Regions from separate parts of the Homo sapiens genome. Here all the other regions are linked to region 1. The links are contacts of gene promoters, found by promoter capture Hi-C in blood cells and fetal thymus (Javierre and others, 2016). All regions are on one chromosome and are shown on one strand. The core of a region is centred on a gene start or on the middle of the fragment in contact, and the rest is flanking DNA. Distances in the headings are between cores, read along the strand shown.

Region 1 (3,864 bases), core at 62-2,561:
TCCTAAAAATAACCCTGGAGGGAAAGACATTCAAACATTGTATGTCCTTAATTCTAGATGGTGAAAATATAAGATTAATCTCCTATTTTCCAATTTTTCTAGAGATCGAAAATAATCAAAAGGAAAAAATGATGGAAAAATGGAATTCTCAGTTCATTTGAAGAATACAGATTAGCAATTAAAAAATACAGCAGTATCTCAGGAAATAAACATTATTCTCATTTTACAAAAAAGTGTATGTGAACTTTAAAAAAATCTACACTACAATATGAATTGATATTATCTCTGGGTAGAATGCTAACAATTTTATTTTCTCCTTTACTGTATTCACTAAATGTTTCACATTAAATGTTGTATTACCTTTGAAATCAGAAGATACATTGTCTAAAACTGATACATCAAGAAATAGTTGTATAAGCATATTACCTAAACACAGAGGTTACCAACAGAAATTAAAAGTGGTTAAAAATGACTCCTGGGGAACTGTAAGAAGAGGAAGGTGAAGGGAAGAAATGGTTGCTTTCCATTCTAAATCTTCACACAATCTATTCTTAAAATCAGACAAGGCTGTGGTAAATTTTTTCAATTATTAAAAAAAATTATTTCTTCTAATAGGAATAGGCCTTTGAGAACCCTATTAATTGTAATAGGTTTCAATTCAGTTAGTCACTCAAGTATTATAAAATGCAACTGGATTTACAGAAATAATTTCCTACCTACACTGACAGTATATTTAAACTAAAAAAAAAGCATACAATGTACAAACAAATTTATTTACAAAAATTACAATTACAAACTGTACAAATTGAGACAATTTCCCATGCCTCCAACAGAAGCCAAGAGCCTTTACTGTCAAATGGCAGTTTTTGTTACTTTTAAATGACACACAAAAAGAAATATGATGCCTATTCAGTCATCCACTGCCAGTTTAAAAATGCTTTTCTAAATAATTCCAAGAAGCCTATTAGTGATATGTATATGGATAATTTCCCTCAACTCTATTTCTAGAATGGCTATGTACAAATCCAGCAAAACTGGAACAGAACAGGGTAAGAAAGCACATAGCAACTGCTTTTTCAACAGTAAATTTTGACTATTCCCCTAAATATCTACCTAGTGGCTTAAAACTAAAACTATGGTCTTTGGCTTTAAAAAGAAAGTCAAAAAATTTTGACTTTTAATGACTGCACAATTCTACCAAAGCCAGTGTTTACCTGGGTATTTTTTGTCACCTGTAGTTTACATTTCCCTGCTACTGTTAAAGAAACAGAATTCTACAGTATTCAATTCTGTATATTGTCTTTTAAGGTTTTTCAATCAGACTCACTACTACTGCTTGAGGAGTCCGTTGACATAATCTCTACATCATCTTCATTTTCTTTATTATGCCCAGGAGGTTCCAACAAAAAGTCACTACTATGATTTGGTGGTAACATATTCATCGACATGTCATTTGACTGCCATGGATACTGTGGAGCAAGGACATCTGGAGAAAAAAAGAAGCATAGATAAGAACAGCTCTATCTGTAATTAATCTAGTTCTTACTTTTCCCTTTATGCAACAATTTGAAGTATTTTTTTTAATTTTACTTTTTTCTCTTCTTTTTTTGACACAGGGTCTCATTCTGTCACCCAGGCTTGAGTGCAGTGGCACGAATACATCACTGAAGCCCTGACCTAGGCTCAAGCAATCCTCCTGCCTCAGCCTCCTGAGTAACTGGGTTACAGGTATGTGCCACCATGCTTGAGTACTTTTTAAAGTTTTTGTAGAGATGAGGTCTCACTATGTTAACCAGGCTGGTCTCCAACTCCTGGGCTCAAGCTATCCTGCTACCTCAGCCTCCCAAAGTGTTGGGATTACAGGCATAAGCTATTGTGCCAATTTTTTTAAGACTAGGAAAAAAATACACATTTAGCCAAATTAATAAAAATCAAATTTATCAAGGAAAAGTTGATATTTTAGCAACTGGGGACTTTTTTAAAAAAATCATACTACTCTGTAAGAAACTATTTAGTCAGTTGACATAATTTTTCTTTTGTAAGACATTTGTAATTACAAATTTTTCCTGTATCTATGTATCTATTATATGCATATATAATACATACTTATGTATACTAGGTTATGTAGATTATTCTACATATTATAAACAAGTAATAGGTACTTTAGTATTATAATAGATTTGAATGATTTCTTGATAGAGGAACTGCTATTGTAAGTGACTCTCATCAAAGAGAGGTTGATTAGCAATGTATGCATATGAAATACCTTAAAAAAGGGCCCAAGTTACATTTAAAGTCTGTATTTCTGAAGCAAAGGGACAGAGCACATAAACAGGTATAGTTCAAGACTCAAATAAAGAAGGCAGATTTTTAAAGGGTCAAAAGAAAGAGTTATGGTATTAACTAGAAAGGTATGCCAGTTAGCCTCAAATCTACCCTTCTCTCTGGCCCCTGAAACCATTTCTCCTTTGCCAGCTGCCACAATTAAGTTTTGTCAGTAGAGGGCACAGGTGGGACTCCACTAGCAAACAAGTTTCACTTCCTGGATCAGGTGGTTTTGTCTCCTTTACTGCTGTGATGCCTGGTTGGTGTGCAGGACATTAAGTGGTGTTCACCACAGCAACTTTCGGTGGCGCCTCTAAAGGTGGTTTCCTAGCAGGTTTCACCAGAATCCCAAAGGGCAGCTTCCCAGCAAGTCTCCCTGGAACCCCAGTGGGTAATTTCCTGCTTGCCAGCTCTGGCCTCTGATGCCTCATCTAACTTCTCTGCCATGGAGTGGGCCACATTACACTGCACCCTCTCCAATGACAGCACCATGATATGAGAGTATCGGCCTTGGGATGGAGCTGGGGAAGACTGTTTTTAGGTCTGTCCCTTCCTTGGTCCAAAATGTGGCAGTGACTCCCCATATCTGTTTTTCCTGTACTTTTAAAACATGAGAAATATGAGGTGATATCCAAGGATATCACAGTTGAGTTCCCCTGGTTGTACTTTAGGTAGCTAACAAAAATGATGCATACAAAGCATTATTAATGACACAGGGACAGCCTTATGATGTAACATTAAGCAAAAAATGTATAGGGGAAAAAAGGAAACAGGCTAAAATATTTAAAGTGACTGCCTCAGAAAGGGTATATTTTTTTCCTTTTTTAAATGCCTTTTTCTACTTCCCAAATGTTCTACCACATCAAAACAAAAGTCACCTACAAACTATAAAAGATGAGGAATAATATAAAACAAATATATATAAAAATAGCACAAACCTATGAAAAACTTGAGGAAAACTGAAGCTCAGAATGAACTGGGTCTCACAGAAATACTATTTTATAAAGTTATAAAAGTTTATAAAAAGCTATTGTTATTCATTTTGTTAACTTGGGGGTTGTTCAGGAGTGTGTTCACTTTATTCCGTAAACTATCTTACTCTATTTACATAGCATGTTTCACAATTATAAAAAAGCTATGTTTAGAGCAATAATTTAAAAAGAGAGGCCAAATGCCTGAGGAAGACAGTGTAATATTTACAAATAAGAGAAAGGCAGCTTGTTCTAATTTCATACCTCCCTCAAGGAGAATCTTTAGAGCAGAATAAACCGGCAAAGAATCTAGCTATTACAATGAACTGGGTCTGAGAGGCAGGCACACTGGCTCACACCTGTAATTCCAGTACTTTGGGAGGCTGAGGCAGGTGATTGCTTGGGGTCAGGAGTTCGAGACCAGCCTGGCCAACAGAGCGAAACCCCATATCCACTAAAAATACAAAAATTAGCCAGGCCTGGTGGCACACACCTGTAATCCCAGCTACTCGGGAGGCTGAGGCACAAGAATCACTTGAACCTGGGAGCCAAGATTTCGCCAACACGC
Region 2 (3,763 bases), core at 32-2,531, 170 kb after region 1:
GTTTTTTTCTTTTTAAAATTATGAAATATTTCAGGCACACAAAATACAGAGAACCTGAAGTATATTTTATATGTTTTGAAAGTCTTAAATATCACATACTTACATAATACTTAAATATGTGGTGTTATATGTTGTGCAACGTGCCTTTTTTGGGGGGGTCAGCAATTATGTTTCTTAGGCTTATCTAAAAATCAGCAGTGCTAGTACTTTTTTTTTTTAATTTTTATTTTTTAAAAGAGATAGGATCTTGCTATGTTGCCCAGGCTGGTCTGGAACTCCTGGGCTTGAGCAGTCCTCCTGCCTCTGCCTCCCAAAGTGCTGAGAGTATAGGCACGAGCCACTGGGCCTGGTCACTAGTTGAATCTTTTTAGCAGTATTATATGAATCTATAATAATTTATTTCGAATTTTTTTTTTGTTGCTGACAATGTAGTGTATATTCTTGGACATATTTCCTTACATATTCAAAAGTTTATCCAGGATTTATACCTAGGAATGGAATTGCTAGGTCATAAGATAAATGTATGTCAGAGGTGTCCAATCTTTTGGCTTTCCTGGGCCACATTGGAAGAAGAATTGTCTTGAGCCACACATAAAATACACTAACAATAGTTGATGAGCTGGGAAAAAAAATCACAAAAAAAGTCATAATGGTTTAAGAAAGTTTGTGAATTTCTGTTGGGCCACATTCAAATCTGTCCTGGGCCACACACGGCCATGGGCCACGGGTTGGACAAGCTTGATGTATGTTTATTAGATACTGCCAAATTGTTCTCCAAAGCAGTTGGACCTAAATTTCTGTCAATTGAGTGGAAGTTCCCAAGTTCCCTTTGTTACACACTTTTTCTAGCACTTGGTGTTAGACATTCTTTTATTGCCTGGTAGACAGGAACTCAGTTGATTTCTTCCCCACCCTCCATATCAAAATATAATTTACATGGAATAAAACTCCTGCATTTTATGTGTACAATTTGATTGAATTTATGGTAATTGTATAAAGTCATATATCCACCCCAACAATCAAGATACGAAAGATTTCCATCACCCAAGTAATTAGTTTCCTCATGCCTGTTTGTAGTCAGTCTCCCCTTCCCCAGCCAGTAAGCTGCTTTTGTCATTATGGTTTTGCCTTTTCTAGAATTTGATAAAGATGTGATCATATAGTGAGTAATCTTTTGTGCTAAACTTCTTTCACTTAGCATGTTTTTGAGATTCAGTCCCGCTGGTGTGTGTTATTTTGTTCCTTTTTATTGCTATCTATTTCATGGTATGAATATACCACAATTTATTCATCAGTTGATGGATATTTGGGTTGTTTCTAGTTTGGGGCTAGTATATAAATAATGATGCTGTAAATATTCATGACTAAATTTTTGACTCAGTTGATTTTTGATTATTGATCTTTAAAAATCTTGCCACCCTCTAATTAGTTTAAATAATTTGACTTTCTTAGATTTTCTACATAGACAGATTATTTACAAATAATAACAGTTTTTTCTTTTTTCTAATACCTAATCTTTTTATTGTTTGTGTACTTGCTGTAGGATCTCTAGTACAGTGTTCAGTGGAAACAGTCAATTTTAGTGGGCATTCCTGTATTCCTCAATTAAAAGGGTATGGTGAAGTATTAAAGTTTCACCATTAAGTATGAGGCTTTCTATAGGCTTTTGATTATTAGCCTTACTGATGTTAAAGAATTTCACCCTTTGCTAGTTTGCAAAGATTTTTTTTTAATGGAAGTTGAATTTTGTCAAATACATTTTCTGTATATTTTGAGATAGTCATGGGGTTTTTCTTCTTAAATCTCACGTGGCTTTTTCTTTAAGTAAAGCTTACTCTTTGAAGTGTTAAAATTTAATCACTCTAAAAACACTTTTAATAAATCTCTTAGATTAAAAACTTTTAAATCTTGAGCATACTTTAATCCCTTCTCCATGACTCGGATTGTATTATGGAACATCATTTATCTATCATACGTGATGTTAATTCTTGACTATAAATCGCTCAAAGTAGGAGCCATGTCTTAATCACATTTGATTTCCCACAGGATCTAGCACAGTATATTGCAAATAGCAAGCCTTACTTAATAAATGCTGAACTAGGCTACTGCTCTTGCTAAATAGCCACAGTTTGTTTTACGTTATGAATTATGTTGCATCTCTCCCTTCCCTTATTATCACGCTGGCTGCTGGTATAACTTTTATGAATCATAAAAAATTAAATAACCAGGCTTTTTAAAAAAATAGATCTAAGTTGGCCGGGTACGGTGGCTCAAGCCTGTAATCCGAGCACTTTGGGAGGCCGAGGCGGGTGAATCACGAGGTCAGGAGATTGAGACCATCCTGGCTACACGGTGAAACCCTGTCTCTACTAAAAATACAAAAAATTAGCCGGGTGTGGTGGCGGGCGCCTGTAGTCTCAGCTACTCGGGAGACAGAGGCAGAAGAATGGTGTGAACCCAGGAGGTGGAGCTTTCAGTGAGCTGAGATCGCGCCACTGCACTCCAGCCTGGGCAACAGAGCGAGACTCCATCTCAAAAAAAAAAAAAAGATCTAAGTTTTATTCACTCATCAAATATATGAGTGCCAGCTAATGCCAAGCCTAAGCTTGGCTTGGAGCTACCAGTAATGCAAAATGAATATGAATGGATACTTAAAAGATCTTATAGCCTAGTAGAGAGAGATAAGATCTTTATGTGAATTATTCTCATGAAAGAAAAGTGATAATTAGGAATTTAGAGAACAAAGATTAGATAGACTTTGAAGATTAAACAGCTCTTCTATGAAGTACATGATGGTGGTGCATAGGTTTGGGGTCTATAATTTGGCTGACCAAAGACTCTTGTTTATTTCCTGATTCTTAAGCCACGTTTCACGTTGTTGAGGTGCTGAATAAATTGACCTGTGGATAAGTGAAGTATTTGTAAGTGAAATTCCTCAAGAAATTGAATTTTAAAAAAATATTCAATAGTGCTGAGAAGTGATTTTTGAATGAACATGAGAAGTCAAACTCTAGCATGGTTTACAAAGGTCTTTTGTGACCTGCACCAGCTTCTTGTCCATCATTTCTCATACTCATCTCCACCATATTGGGCACTCCAGCCAAAGCACATGTGGCTCTTGGAAATGTCATGCATTTTAGCTCCATAAATTTTGAAAAATCATTGCCATATATAAAATTTCCTTTAACTCTATCTTCTGCTGAGGTAATGAGTATTTGTCCTTTAACATTCCACTAAAGTATTTTCTCCCTTGGGAAGTCTTCCTGAAACTCATCCCCTCTTATGTGCTCTCTGTGCATTTTCCTATTAGAGTTTGTATCATATTTATTTTCTTTTTGTATATTTATCTGTTTTCCGGACTGATCTAACAGGTCTCTTTCTTGGCAGAGCATACATTTCCAGTGCCTAGCACAGCTCTTGGCACATAGTAGACATTTATAATTTATTCTCAAAATGATTGTTGAACAGTTAAAAATGATATATTACAATGCCTTGAAACTTGTCATCAATTTGCCAGTTGGGGCTGCGTATTCTTTTACAGATGTCTGCCTGTGCTGTTTGGCTATTCATTTATGTACTATTGGAAGAGAAAGCCTGCCAAATGGGGTGGGTGTGTGCGCACATTTGGCTGTCCCAGCAGCTGATACCAAATGTTGGAAATAACTATTTCCATCTGTCATTTTCATCCCCCCCACTCTCCTTCCACTCTAAAATTAATTATGTTAGGAATGATTTCTTACCTCCTTAGATATTTATGTCAGAC
Region 3 (3,870 bases), core at 22-2,521, 240 kb after region 1:
GCAAATTGGTTAATTCTGTGAGTCTCAGTTTGCTCACCTGTAAGGCAGAAATAATGCCTGAATGTGAACCTCATAGGCTTTTTGTTATACATACATATATATGTATATGAAATGTATGATATACATATCTCAAAGAGCTTTGGGATATATTGCTCTTGATAGAACCACTTACTTATTTTTGTGATATGGTGGTTATATTTTAAATAAATACAGTCATGTGTTGCTTAACAATGGGAACACATCTGAGAAATGCATCATTAGGTGATTTCATCGTTGTGTGAACATCATAGCATGTACTTACACAAACCTGGATGGTATAGCCTATGACACACCTATGCTGTGTGGTATATAGCATGTTGCTCCTAGTCTGCAAATGTGTACAGCATGTTACTGTACTGAACATTGTAGGCAATTGTAACACAATGGTAAGTATTTGTATATCTATACATAGAAAAGGTACAGTAGATCATCCATATCCTTACTGATTTTCTTTCTATGTGTTTTACTAATTATTGAGGGAGAAATATGAAGCCTCCAACTATAATTAGAATGGTCCTTTTAAATTCTGTTTTTTATTAATGTATTTTTTATTTTATTTTATTTTGAGATGGAGTCTTGCTCTGTCACCCAGGCTGGAGTGCGTGGCACGATCTCGGCTCACTGCAACCTCTGCCTCCCGGGTCCAAGCGATTCTCCTGTCTCAGCCTCCCGAGTAGCTGGGATTATAGGCATGCGCCACCACACCCGGCTAATTTTTGTATTTTTAGTAGAGACGGGGTTTCACCGTGTTAGTCAGGCTGGTCTCGAACTCCTGACCTCATGATCTGCCCTCGGCCTCCCAAAGTGCTGGCATTACAGGCGTGAGCCACTGTGCCTGGCCTTTATTAGTGTATTTTAAAGCTTTATCCTTGGGTACATACAAGTTTAGAATTTTTATGCCTTTTAGGTAAATTGGTACCTTTATCATTATGTAATGTGCTTTTTTATCCAAATTTATATCTTTTGTTCTGCAGTGTCCACATATCGATTCCACTTTTCTTGTGATCACTCTTTACAATGTGTATCGTTTACCTTCATTTTGATTTTAACCTATTTCTTTTTTATATTTAAATGGATTTTTGTTGTTTTGTAATCAGCATTCATTAAAAATTTTTAGCTGAATACTTTTTACTTTTGTTAGGGTTCCCTGTGTCTCTTCCTTTCATGTTGTGCCACAGATGAGCCATTATTTATATCTTTTCTCTCATTGGAGGTTCCTTTTTTTAGGGGAAATTAAATAATCTGAAATATAAGGAAAGGATATGTTGATTTCAAGAAAGGTTGTTTTTGTTCCTTATCTGGCTTGTTCTTGTTGTGAGGGTGGGAGCAATACTCTTTGCAGCTTTCTGCATTCTAGGAAGAAGTGGAATTTTACACTACCATTTGCTTTCTTTACAGGTTTACCTTGGTATTCAGTGTCTGTCCATAGGACTAATTAAAACTATACCAGACTCCTTCTATTTTAAACCTATCCGTTCAGTCTCAAGTTATCTTTTTGCATTGCCTCTCACGTCTGTCCCTTCATTTCTTTTACCAGCAGTGCTTGGTTTTTACTGTTTGCTTTGGTTTTAATTTCCTTTTTATTTTTTTAATTTCAGAAGGTGGAAGCTTATGTCATTGACTTGAGCATTTTTTATGCATGTTTTAGTGCCTCTTTCTGACTAGTCTCTTCTTTTCTCCATCCAATCCATCCTGTGCCTGATTTTTAGAAAAGACTGGTGTACAGTTTGCCCCTTTTGCTTTAAAATTTATTTTTCATTGTTACAACCCACTCTCAGTAGCCTCCATTGTAACACCCTCCCATGCTCCCACCACCATTATGAAGAAGTAAAGTCCAAACTTTCTCAGTATTTGTAGTTCTTCATGGTCTGTGCTTTAACCTTCCTTCCAGTCTTATTTTTTATTTCCATTGTTGGCCCCCAATGCCTGTGTTCTCTTCCCTTCCATATGAATCTTCCATATGAATATCTTCCATATGAATATGATAGTATTCATATTCATGCGATCTCCCCTTTTTTTGGAATACCCTTCTTTTTTCTTTTAGCCTAAATTCTGTTTTTAAGATGCAGTTAAAGCTTCTCCTTTATGCATATCTCTTATAAGATATATTATTTGCAGACTTTTCCCCCCATTCTGTGAGTTGCCTTTTCACTTTCTTGATGATGTCATTTGCAGCGTAGGATTTTAATTTTGATGAAGTCCAGTTTTCTATTTTTTTTTTGGTGGTGGTTTTTTTTTTGGTTGCTTGGGCTTTTGATGTTGTATCTAAGAAGGCCTTGACTAACCCAAGGTCATGAAGACTTATTCTGTGCTTTCTTCTAAAAGTCATATGGTTTTTAGTTCTTGTCAGTCTTGGGTTTTTTTTTGTTTTTTTTTTTTGAGTTAATTTTTGTGTATGATGTGAGGAAGAGGTCTAACTCCAGTCTTTTGAATGTGGATATCCAGTTGTCTCTGCACCACTTATGGAAAAGACTATTCTTTCTTCATTGAATTGTTTTGGTGCCCTTGATGAAAATCAGTTGACTATAAAAACCAGGGTTTATTTCTGGAGTCTCAGTTCTATTCCATTGCTCTGTATGTTTATTCTTTTTTTTTTTTTTTTTTTTTGAGACGGAGTCTCGCTCTGTCGCCCAGGCTGGAGTGCGGTGGCACAATCTCGGCTTCCTGCAAGCTCCGCCTCCCGGGTTCATGCCATTCTCCTGCCTCAGCCTCCCAAAGAGCTGGGACTACAGGTGCCTGCCACCACGCCCGGCTAATTTTTCTGTATTTTTAGTAGAGACGGGGTTTCACTGTGTTAGCCAGGATGGTCTCGATCTCCTGACCTCGTGATCGCCCACCTCGGCCTCCCAAAGTGCTGGGATTACAGGCGTGAGCCACCGCGCCTGGCCGTATGTTTATTCTTATGATAGTACCATACTGTTTTGTAGTATGTTTTATAGCTTTGTAGTATGTTTTGAAATAGGGAAGTGTGAGTTCGACAACTTTGGTTTTCTTTTTCAAGATTACTTTTGTTACTCTTGGTACTTGAATTTCCATGTGAATTTTTAGGATCAATTTGTCAATTTCTGTTTTAAAAAAAGGCAGCTGGGATTTTGATAGGGATTATGTTGGATCTAGATCAATTTGCGGAATATTGCATTCTTAACAACATGAAGTCTTCAGATGCATGCATATGGAATGTCTTTTCGTTTAAGTCTTTCTTTCACCAGTGTTTTCAGTTTTCAGAGTATAAATCTTACTAAATATTTATTCTTGGTGATATTATTATAAATGGAATTGTTTTCTTTCCTTTTTGGCTTATTCATTGTAGGTGGATAGAAATAAAATCTATTTTTTTTGGATAAGAGCAGCTAAAATCAGTTGGGCACGGAGGCTCACGCCTGTAATCTTAGCACTTTGGGAGGCCGAGGTGGGTGGATCACTTGAGGTCAGGAATTTGAGACCAGCCTGGCCAACATGGTGAAACCCTGTCTCTACTAAAAATACAAAAAATTAGCTGGGTGTGGTGGCATGCGCCTGTAGTCCCAGCTACTCTGGAGGCTGAGGCAGGAGAATCGCTTGAACCCGGGAGGCGGAGGTTGCAGTGAGCCGAAGTCGTGCCACTGCACTCCAGCCTGGGCAAAAAAAAAAAGAAAAAGCAGCTAAAATCTATGTATTTAACAAAAATCTCTAATACAGTACCATTTTATTTATTATAGTCCTCATGTTGTATATTAGATCTCTGGACTTGTTCATCCTATGTATTTGCTACTTCGTATCCTTTGAACTACATCTTTTCAAAGGATGAAATTGGGTAATGTGATGCCTCTAGCTTTGGTCTTTTTGTGTAGG

The links. Contacts are between HindIII fragments. The CHiCAGO score rates a contact against its expected background, and 5 or more counts as called.
Region 2: a contact is called between a fragment that was not itself captured here and the fragment with the promoter of MED4-AS1 in region 1, in 1 of 17 cell types (total CD8 T cells). The highest score is 5.5, in total CD8 T cells.
Region 3: a contact is called between a fragment that was not itself captured here and the fragment with the promoter of MED4-AS1 in region 1, in 2 of 17 cell types (naive CD8 T cells and naive B cells). The highest score is 5.4, in naive CD8 T cells.

What each region holds. Positions count from the first base shown.
Region 1 is chr13:48,075,826-48,079,689 of GRCh38, forward strand. MED4-AS1 (MED4 antisense RNA 1) reads left to right here and starts at 1,312. Exons shown (of 3, transcript NR_046511.1): 1 at 1,312-1,526; 2 at 1,617-1,728. MED4 (mediator complex subunit 4) reads right to left here. Exons shown (of 7, transcript NM_014166.4): 7 at 1-1,486. The coding sequence ends at 1,314. The HindIII fragment of the contact is 10,244 bases long and covers 1-3,864 here.
Region 2 is chr13:48,248,084-48,251,846 of GRCh38, forward strand. All of the region lies in intron 1 of ITM2B (integral membrane protein 2B), which reads left to right. Among named protein-coding and RNA genes, the nearest start is that of ITM2B, 17 kb to the left of the region's middle. The HindIII fragment of the contact is 1,093 bases long and covers 736-1,828 here.
Region 3 is chr13:48,311,121-48,314,990 of GRCh38, forward strand. The region is part of intron 2 of RB1 (RB transcriptional corepressor 1); the gene reads left to right. Among named protein-coding and RNA genes, the nearest start is that of RB1, 9.3 kb to the left of the region's middle. The HindIII fragment of the contact is 747 bases long and covers 899-1,645 here.